Regions from separate parts of the Homo sapiens genome. Here regions 1 and 2 are each linked to region 3. The links are contacts of gene promoters, found by promoter capture Hi-C in blood cells and fetal thymus (Javierre and others, 2016). All regions are on one chromosome and are shown on one strand. The core of a region is centred on a gene start or on the middle of the fragment in contact, and the rest is flanking DNA. Distances in the headings are between cores, read along the strand shown. Region 1 overlaps SH3GLB1 (SH3 domain containing GRB2 like, endophilin B1). Region 2 has its middle 48 kb from the start of SH3GLB1. Region 3 holds the start of CLCA1 (chloride channel accessory 1).

Region 1 (3,424 bases), core at 847-3,346, 260 kb before region 3:
TAGACTCACCAGTATCTAACATTTTACTACAAGGCTTATTAAGATTGGCCTTCGTGAATAGTACACTAGCAAACTCTGCTTAGCCAATAAACAACAACATGTATATTTAATGAGGGTGGGAGAACTCGGTGATAAGATGTAAACAACAATTTAAAATATTTATTCGGATATATTGGAAAGTAGAACAATTTAAATTTCCTTGATGAATGACTGAAAAGTTCAGTTTTTCCTCCCAAAATTGCCTTAGGACTACCAAAGTCTTGTTCCAAATGAATTTCCAATGAATGAATACTCACATGTGTACTGCTGATTCCCTCTAGCAGAAGTCTGGTAATCTCTGCTTGACGATCAAATTCACTTTGAGTTATTCTTAATTCCTGTTCAGACTTAAGTAAGAATATAGTTTTAGAATCTCTTTAGAAGACTCAGTCCATCTTATATACATTTATTTTAGATGGTTAAAAAAAATCCCCCGAACAAACCTCAAGTTATAATCTGGCAATTCCGCAATTCTGCTTTGTATCTAAAATGGTCCCCTGGTTTCTAGACCTTAGCTTTTCTGTATTACTCCACCTGGACAACTGATTCCAGTACTTGATTGAAAAGAATCTGTTACGCTAAAGCTTAATGATACACTCTTAAGAGCCTACAAAAACTACTAAGAGAAAGCCAAGATATTTTCATAAATTTTCTAGTATCAATTTTGCTAAATTTTACTATTTTACAAAATTTTAAGATGACCAGTTTTACAAGTATAAAGTAATATTGCTGCAAAAATTCTCAATTATTACTACAGTTTTTACTTTGAAGTTAAAGAGTCTTCAGTCTCAAATGCAAAAGACTTTAGAGTGAAGCCATAGGATTTTCACCTTGCGTTTAGTTGCCAAACACTTGTTGCTAGCACCAGTTTTTAGGTTCATTCAAAGGATTCTTTGTCCTACATTTTAAATGTCTTTCTTTCAAATTTTCTTTTCAAACTATGCATAAAAAATGTCTTAAGCAGAATACTATCTATTAAGATACACTAGGGTTTTAAAAAGCTTTTTAAGTTATGATCGAACTTCAATCAGTAGTGTGCTGTTAAATTCTTCCCCAAGAAATAAAAAAAAAAGCTCTCATATCCAGATTTTCATGATATAAATACTCCCACCACAGCTGATTTCCAGCTACTAACGTGAAGTCACACACTGTGGAGCTGGGAAGAGATGTAAATAACAGTATGCCACTACTGGTTTCAACCATCTGATAAAGGAGGCTTACTGCTGCGACAAAACAGTTCACTGAAAAATCAACAAGATCTAAAAATAGCAAATAGTGGCAAAAAACATCTTCTCAAACCTTTAGTCAGAGTTGGTTGTTAATAAGTGGGAAAGAGAAATAAAACCTCACAGCTTACTCAGAATAGTTAGCTTTTCTCCCATTGGGAATTATCATTGGTTACATCATCATTATAATGATAGGTTTGACTACCTCTCCAGCACAAATAGCATTTTCCACCTATGCAAATGATTCATGACATTTCCAAGATGTAATAAAAGTAAAAAAAACGAAAAACAAAAAAAACCCAACAAGGTATGAACTTTTTTCTTTCAGGCCTCATCTCCCTCTCCTCATCCTTTGGTGGCAATAGTTACCCTAGTAAACCAGTCTACAAGGAAGTAGCAGCAAAGTAGATAATCAGTTGCTGTAACAGCCCACTGGCAACAAACCTAGCAGAGGGGACTAATAATTGACCTCTAGCTTGGACTTACGGAAATAAGCTTGAATTAGTAAGTCAGAAGTTGAAATTAAATTTACTTGACTAAAACCAGAACCCATGGTGTTTTGATAGCAGGGACAAAGTAAGCTTCATCTGGAAGCTGGTATGAAGTAGAAAAAAGTCCCAGAAGAAAAAAAGAAGCAATGTTCTTCCTAAGGAGAGCACTAAGGAAAACCAATCACATCAATATTACATATGCACTATTAACTGTTCTGCTTGGTTGAATACAAAAGGCTTTGAGTAACAGAAGTAAATACAGCAAACCAAAAATAAATGCACTTCAGAAATAAACTAGGTTAGTTCCATATAGGTCTTTGATTGTCAAAGTACGGTTTAATTTAATGGCCTTTAGTAGAAATGGCAGAAAAATCCTACTAACTGACATTATTTCTAGGTAAGGTAATAAGCAAGTAAACTAGGTAGCAGATTAAGGTGACCGGGAAGATTGAGACTGAAGTAGAAATAATATTTTAATGCTAAGTACACTGAATAAAAAATATCAAATGATCTCATTAAGGATGAGGGATCAGGCTTCTAGGTTTGAGTAAAATTTAATCATGAAGAAAGGCACCATGTTACAAAGCTTAGGAGGTCCTTCTGTACAATCTAGACTTTAGAGAGGGTAGATGATAGGGAAAAATGCATCTCATTTCTTGAACAAGTTTTAGTGCATATTGGGTGGCTTCAAACAGTCAAATGTCCCAAATCATCTATACTTCTGGCATATATAATTGATCATAATAACTGATCTGAGAGGCTAAAGGAATTTAAATTAGGCTTAGCATAATCAATTTACTTCGGAAGAAAATGATCCACATTAGAAAGATAGATAAGAAAGGGCTGATATTCTGTCGTCTAAAAAATCTCTAGGGAGAAGACCTTCTACTGCTAAAAGTAACTGCTACTAGACTACATGATAGCATAACATAGGTTAGGTAAGCCAGAAGAGTTTTTTCTAAAATGTAACTGGAAGATGGGCAAGAATCTGTTGGCCCACGATATCAAGATTGGGTATCTGTAAGCCCTAAATTTTGGTAATGCTTCTGAGGCATTTGCTGTGACTATCTTGATCAGTGTTGACTACTATTCATATGGCTTAAAATCTTAAAATACTCCAGGAATGTAAAGTCTTAACATTTATACATTTTCATTTATTTATTTTTTGAGATGGAGTTTTGCTCTTGTTGCCTAGCTTGGAGTGCAACGGCTGATCCTGGCTGACTGCAAACTCCACCTCCCAAATTCAAGGGATTCTCCTGCCTCAGCCTCCCAAGTAGCTGGGACACCATGCCTGGCTAATTTTGTATTTTTAGTAGAGACAGGGTTTCACCATGCTGGTCAGGCTGGTTTTGAACTCCTGACCTCAGGTGATCTGCCCACCTCGGCCTTCCAAAGTGCTGGGATTACAGGTGTGAGCCACTGCTCCTGGTCATTTATACATTTTTAATTATAAAAATGTCAGAAGTGAGATATGTAGAAGAAAAAAACCCCTGAAATCCATTTTGATAGGTTTCTTTAGATTTTTATATATATGTATATAATATGTTTCATGAGTTTCTTCCCATGTATTGTATCAATTATTTCCTAAACTTGCTGAGACTGCAAAATCAAGTCAGAAATTTTCTGGCATATCTTTATGCCAAAGAGGAAGACATTCTAGTTTTT
Region 2 (3,337 bases), core at 777-3,276, 280 kb before region 3:
CAGAGGAAGGACAATCTCTACCTCGCAGCATTGTTGCAGGAATGAAATTAGAGAATGTGTAAAGCACCCCACACAGTGACTGGCATGTGGTAAATGCCAATGATTGGCATCTATTTTTAAAATAATGTGCTCTTGTCCTGCTGAATAGGGCATATAAACCCCTCAGTGGAAACTGAGACACTGGCTAGAAAGAAACAATAAAATTATATTGCTGTCTTACCTTGATAAAAGACAGATACATAGAACGTATTCCCTTACAGCTGAATTTCAAAATAAACTTCCAATCCATGGACTCTTTTCCCTGTTCCTGGAAAAATTATATCCTGAGCATGTTCACGTGCTTACCAAATTACTCATTAATGAGTGGTCTATTTATTGGATAGAGTCAGTAAAATGATATTACATTTTAGTTTCATTTGATAGCTTGGAGGTATTTTGGGGGGGCTGTCATTATCATCTTTCATTGTTTCTGCAGGTGAGTCAGCTTTGAGGTGAGAGACAGGTGGTTTCTCTGCTATATGTAAACAAGTGGCTCTCAAACATGTGCATCAGAATCATCTGGAGAGCTTATTGAACCACAAGATGGCAGAGTCCCACCCCTGACAGATTCCAGGACCTGCACTTTGAGAAGCCCTGACTTAAACCAACACTGATTTCTCTGCACTTTCAGCTGTGGCAGTGATGGCACTGGCAGCTCCCTGCTTGGCTTGATGACCTTTGTAGGTTTCTTTAGTTGGTTAAGCAGCAGTTTATAGCTGCTTTATGTTAAGAGCAATACTTTTTCTGCCCCAAGAAAAGTACTAACCTGGGAAGAGTGCAGGAAATAATGGACCATTGACCATATGTAGGGGGCACATTCCAAAAATAGGTGTCTGTGTTCCACACTGATTAAGAGCTTGGGCTTTGGAGTTGGGAAGGCAAGCAATGAGACTTCTTTGCCATTTTTCTAGTTGTGTGGCTTTCTAAATTCTGTTTTCTCGTCTGTAGAATGGGGGAAAGTATACTTTCTTGCCAGGTTTAAAGAAGGTAAAGCACATAAAGTGCTCAATAAGTGTTAGCAACTTTTTCAAGGGGATGTAAAAGCCCAATGATGCCTAAGACTGTGAGTGCCACTGTTCATATATACTCATTAGAATTCACTAGAATGTCTGAGCACAGAGTTGGTCCTTTTGAGGTCTAAGTCAGTCCAGGTAGAGAGGGATTTCTAAAGAATTTCTCACAAGGTGTTATTCAGCCTTTTGTAGAAAGCTCAGACTGAAGAGCTTTATACTCTAAAATATAAAGAAAACAACCCCATCAACGAGCTGCCAGTAGAAATGTGTATGCTGTTCAAGTTAATTCATAATTGTGGGTTTAACATTAGTTATTATTAAAACATGAACAACTTTGGCTTGTTTAGAACATGTTAGGAAGCAAGAGCTAGATGGACCTTAGAGATCATCTGGTTTAATCCTTTTATTTTACAGATAAAAAAATCTGTGGGGCTGAGAAATTAAGTGAACAATTTGCTTGAAGGTACGCAACCACAAATTTAATTTCTACTGGACTTGCTAGGTAAATGCTCTCAGAAAGAATGGCTTGTGGACGATTATAAAACCACTATCATTTCAGTCTTCTGTAACATGTAATTGATTTACATTCAAACAGCCTGGGTAGAAGGTAAATTCATTTAGTTTCCTAGGGTTATTATAACACAAATTTATCTTGAGGCATTCATCAGGAAGTTACATGAAATAAAGCTGGTCATTTTATGAGTATATGATAGAAATTGTTTTATAATCACACCATGCAATTGGAAGCATATGCTTTGAAAAACTTCAGGTGAATATGATCATGGTGATATTCTATGATGTGGCAGTTGCTGTGGCAATAATGGGGCTGGAAGCTCCATTATTGAAGCTTCAATTGTCCCATTTTTCCATGTGTAGAAGCAGACCTTGACTGTTTTCTGAGAAAAATCTTGACCCTTTCTCCAAGTACTGTTTTTTCTTTCAGAAATGGAGTGACTTTCTATATAGATTTCAGTCAATTTTTAGTGAAAAGAATTTAAACTCATTTTCTACATGATTGGTTAAAATATAAGGATTTGTACTCCATATTCTTGAGATCTTAACCTCCAGCCTTCAGCTGCCAAATGTCTATGAAAAGCTTTGTTATGAGAAATATATACGAAACTTTGCCTGAAAAGTGTGTAGTTCATTCATTACTTTAAAAATTGTAATAGTGACAAAATAGTAGTTAGAAATTGTTAAGTATTTACTGTATGCCAGTTACTGAGTCCAGCCCTTATGTGCATTATTTCTTTTAATCCTTGCAACTGGTGTTTCGCCCACTTTGGCATGCATCAAATCACCCGAGGGCTTGTTAAAACGCAAATTGCTTTGACCCATCCTTAGGGTTTCTGATTCAGCAGCGGCCCGAGACTGCATGTCTAATAAATTTCTAGGTGATGCTGATGCTGCTGGTCTGAGAAGTACTGTTTGCTACAAACCTAGGAGGTAAGCATTTTAATCTGTACTTTGTAGATGAAGAAACAGGTTCAGGTTGTGTCACTTACTGAACACACAGTTAATAAGGTGGTAGAGTTGAGATTTGAAAATTTGCTTTTTTGATTCCAAAGTCTATAGTCAATTTCTGTGCTAGGTGGTTTTGCAATAAAACATTCTGTCTGGGCTGAATAGTAACATTTTATAGTTCAGGAATAGAGTAGGACTCTATTGCTCCTAACACTGGGGTCCAAATATATTGAAGCATATGGATGCCATGAGATGGTACTAATCAATGCCAGAGTGTGGGATAAAGTAATACGGCCCTTAAAAGGGACTTTATCATGAAGGTAGAAATAGACAGGTGAGCAGCTCCCTGACACCAAGGGGAGCTATGGGACAAAGGGGAGCCTTGGTTCCAGGACTGCAAAGTGTCCAACAGTGGAATTTATCTTCACCAGACAATCTGGTGAGGGCTTTCTCCTGGGAGAACTGGCTTTGTGTGTGTAAATTTAAAGAGCTCTTGTACTTAAAAGAGAGCTGTGCTTTCTGGGAAGCCTGCGATTGAGTGCTAATAGGGAAGAAATGGCTCTCATCATGCCATAGAACTCTGACTTTCCTCTCTGTCTGAGGCAGCAGTGAGCCAAGCACTGTGGGCTGTAGGTAGCATTGAAGAAGGGGGTGGGTTAGAGGTCAGCAAGAAACACAACGTCTGGGTAACATACTTGTCACCACGTGGTTGCCTAGGCAGTGGGCCCCTGTTGTATCAGTGAGGAAAACTCTATCATGTAACTGAGGTAAGATTTTGAATCTTGATGAGCAACCTTATTGCAGGCATTCCATACCCACTT
Region 3 (3,276 bases), core at 358-2,857:
ACTGTAGATACAAATTACCACGGTCACTGAAGATGAATACGGCATCTACATTCTCCTTCTGGCATATTGCTGAACCCCACTGTCTAGCCAGAGACTGAAACACACTGGTCACATGTTTGCTGATGCCACTTCCAAATTTAGAAACAATCAAAAACTCACTCAACATTTTAGATGATTGAGAGATTCAAGAGGTCTGAATCTCCCTTTTACCACAGACAGCCTGATCCTCTTTGGGTTAAGTAGGTAAGCTTTATGGTGAGTGACACCCTCCACTCTGTTCCCTATCCCTATCCCCTACTGCTGCAATTCTCTAACCACACACTGTAGAGATGGTTTTCTTTCCAAACATTATCTTTCTATATTTGCCTCTGCTTAGAGCAGTGGATCTCTGGGGAAATCCCTCTGGGCCCTTGTTCTATTAATTTTCCATCTAGAGAGAGCCAATGACTATATCCACCATTTATTGAGCTCTTACTATGTACCAGGCACTATGCATGCATTTTTAAAGTTATTTTTTAAAGTTCTGAGATAAATTTAGATGAACAGAAGACATGCAAAGTATTGCACCGTATTCTTACATACTCCACCCAGCTTCCCTTTATATGCATGCATTTTAAACTTTGATCCTCACAAAATCTGATAAGGGAGATATTTATTATTATTATTCCCATTTTACAGACTAATACTGTTACTAGTACAGCACTGCCTCTGGATGTGTTACAGCCAGATTCCAGGGCGGTCTTTTATAAAGCATTTCCCTCTTAGTTTTAGCTGTTTGTTGTTGTACAAGACCTTCTTCAATGGTATAGATACCCCTGCCAGGACAGGAAGTCTTCTTCCTTTCCCTTCTGCTACATAAGAGGTAGCAAGAAATCTCTGAAAGGATCCCTTGAATTGGGACTGATAAAATGCAAGGTTTTCTCCCATCAGAAGGTCAGGGTTGTTCTTATATCAGAGATTTGCATCTGGGGCTCCTTTTAGGATCACAGGGAAGGGGGTTCCTATTAGGAGAATAAAAGGAGAGTCTGACTCGTGCCAAGGGTAAAATCAGGCAAAGGATCTGTGCATCTCACAATATCTGTCAAATGTAGCTGACTCTGCCTTACTATAGAACTAAATAATTTTCAGTGACATAATCCACAGCAGTACATATCAATTTATCATTTATCAGTTGCCAACAGTATATCACTCTGAGTTATGTGCATTGCATTCATTATCTTATCTGACACAAGAATCCTAATGGTTAACTTGTTATTATTTCCATTTTACAGATGAAGAAACTGAGACTTAGACATAAAAATACATGCCAGTGTCGTGCAGCTGGAATAGGGCACTCATGTTCTCTCTATCACAACATTATGCTATTTTTAAAAAAGTATGGATAATTACTATGAACTTACCTTTATTTGTTGAATGAGTGTTTCATCTTCTGGCACATTGGGGTCGATTGCAACGACAATGCCTTCATAGCCATTGTTGTTCAGCTGAATGAGTGAATTACTCAGGGCCCCTTCTAGAAGGTGAAGAATCAAGATGAACACAGAACTCTTAAATGGCCCCATTGCTGTACATCTCCCTGTGATTTCTCTCTTTGGAAAATGCGGGTTACGAAGGTGTCTTTCTTTACCATTATATATATACAGATATGAAAATATAGACACACGTTTCCAACTTATCGGAAGTGGTTTATCACAGGTCTTTAACCCCCTGACCTGATGTGTTTTACTATTGCTCTTGTCTTCAATAGGAGAATGATAACAATATCTTAGTCTCAAATTGCGTACTTGTAAATATTTCCATCTGCCTTCAGCTGTGCCAGATGCTGGGGTAAGGGTGGGGGAGCCCACATCCGGTTCCTTGGAAGCACTCACAGGTGACAAGCAGCTTGGCCGCTGATAGGTTTGTTTACTTCTTGGAAATGTTTACCAAGCCATGGACACCAACCCACCCAAAGCCCCCAACCCCCTCCTGCCCAGGAAAATCCAGACTGTTCTGCTTATTCAGTAAACATTTTGTAAGCCATATATTCAGTTATCCCTCATGGTGGTCTTTACCACAATGGTGGTTTTGTTTACCTTGACATAACCTCAACACCTCTTCATGCTCCCCTTAAACAAGAAAATATTCAATTATATTCCACATCCATTTGTACCAAAAGCATTAGCAAGTGATGTAGATATTATTGACTATTTTATAATGGAGAGTAAAGATAAAATGTATATCTTACTTTGCAAAGCATACTCCAAGTTCCTCATCAGATTTCTGCTTTCTCTATTGCATAGCTCCTACCAGTCAATAAAATTCCAATTAACATCATTAAATTATTTTGCTGAAACTAAATGTCCCTAGGAACATGAATTATGGGCTGTCAGTGGCTGTGTATATTCTTTCAATTTGCCAAACCTCAGGTGGAACCTCAAATTGGCCCCCCATTTTCTTGTATTGAAATACTTGAAATATCTCTTCGTTCATAAATTCATTTGGTCTTCAGATGGTGATAAGCATTAATTTCATCTTGTCCATATGAACTTTAAAGTAGTTTTTTCCAATTCTGTGAAGAAAGGCATTGGTAGCTTGATGGAGATGGCATTGAATCTGTAAATTACCTTGGGCAGTATGGCCATTTTCACGATATTGATTCTTCCTATCCATGAGCATGAAATGTTCTTCCATTTGTTTGTATCCTCTTTTATTTCCTTGAGCAGTGGTTTGTAGTTCTCCTTGAAGAGGTCCTTCACGTCCCTTGTAAGTTGGATTCCTAGGTATTTTATTCTCTTTGAAGCAATTGTGAATGGGAGTTCACTCATGATTTGGCTCTCTGTTTGTCTGTTGTTGGTGTATAAGAATGCTTGTGATTTTTGTACATTGATTTTGTATCCTGAGACTTTGCTGAAGTTGCTTATCAGCTTAAGGAGATTTTGGGCTGAGACAATGGGGTTTTCTAGATATACAATCATGTCATCTGCAAACAGGGACAATTTGACTTCCTCTTTTCCTAATTGAATACCCTTTATATCTAGCATAATCTTAAGCAGTTAAAAGGGAAACACTGAAATAGAGTGGAAATGCTCAATTATAATGTGGTTGTCCAGATGATCCAAAATATGCTTTTATATCAAAATACATATACATTTATTATTCATACAAAATTTAAAAATGTAGATTCCAAGATATCTCAGACCCCAAATGTATGTGTCTTTGCCTGGGTTCCCTAAAAAACAGAGCCTAAGGCAGGCATATGTGCTAAGAGTTTGAGAGTTTAATCCCAGAGCAGTG

Evidence for each region. The method cuts DNA at HindIII sites, captures the fragments that hold promoters and counts their contacts. A CHiCAGO score of 5 or more calls a contact.
Region 1: a contact is called between a fragment that was not itself captured here and the fragment with the promoter of CLCA1 in region 3, in 2 of 17 cell types (naive CD4 T cells and naive CD8 T cells). The highest score is 6.5, in naive CD4 T cells.
Region 2: a contact is called between a fragment that was not itself captured here and the fragment with the promoter of CLCA1 in region 3, in 4 of 17 cell types (naive CD4 T cells, activated CD4 T cells, total CD4 T cells and 1 more). The highest score is 8.1, in naive CD4 T cells.

Annotation. Positions count from the first base shown.
Region 1 is chr1:86,731,564-86,734,987 of GRCh38, reverse strand. SH3GLB1 (SH3 domain containing GRB2 like, endophilin B1) reads right to left here. Exons shown (of 9, transcript NM_016009.5): 6 at 297-386. Among named protein-coding and RNA genes, the nearest start is that of SH3GLB1, 29 kb to the right of the region's middle. The HindIII fragment of the contact is 496 bases long and covers 1,849-2,344 here.
Region 2 is chr1:86,751,136-86,754,472 of GRCh38, reverse strand. No RefSeq gene overlaps it. Among named protein-coding and RNA genes, the nearest start is that of SH3GLB1, 48 kb to the right of the region's middle. RefSeq lists an enhancer at 605-664. The HindIII fragment of the contact is 249 bases long and covers 1,902-2,150 here.
Region 3 is chr1:86,467,258-86,470,533 of GRCh38, reverse strand. CLCA1 (chloride channel accessory 1) reads right to left here and starts at 1,607. Exons shown (of 14, transcript NM_001285.4): 1 at 1,401-1,607. The coding sequence starts at 1,562. The HindIII fragment of the contact is 8,280 bases long and covers 251-3,276 here.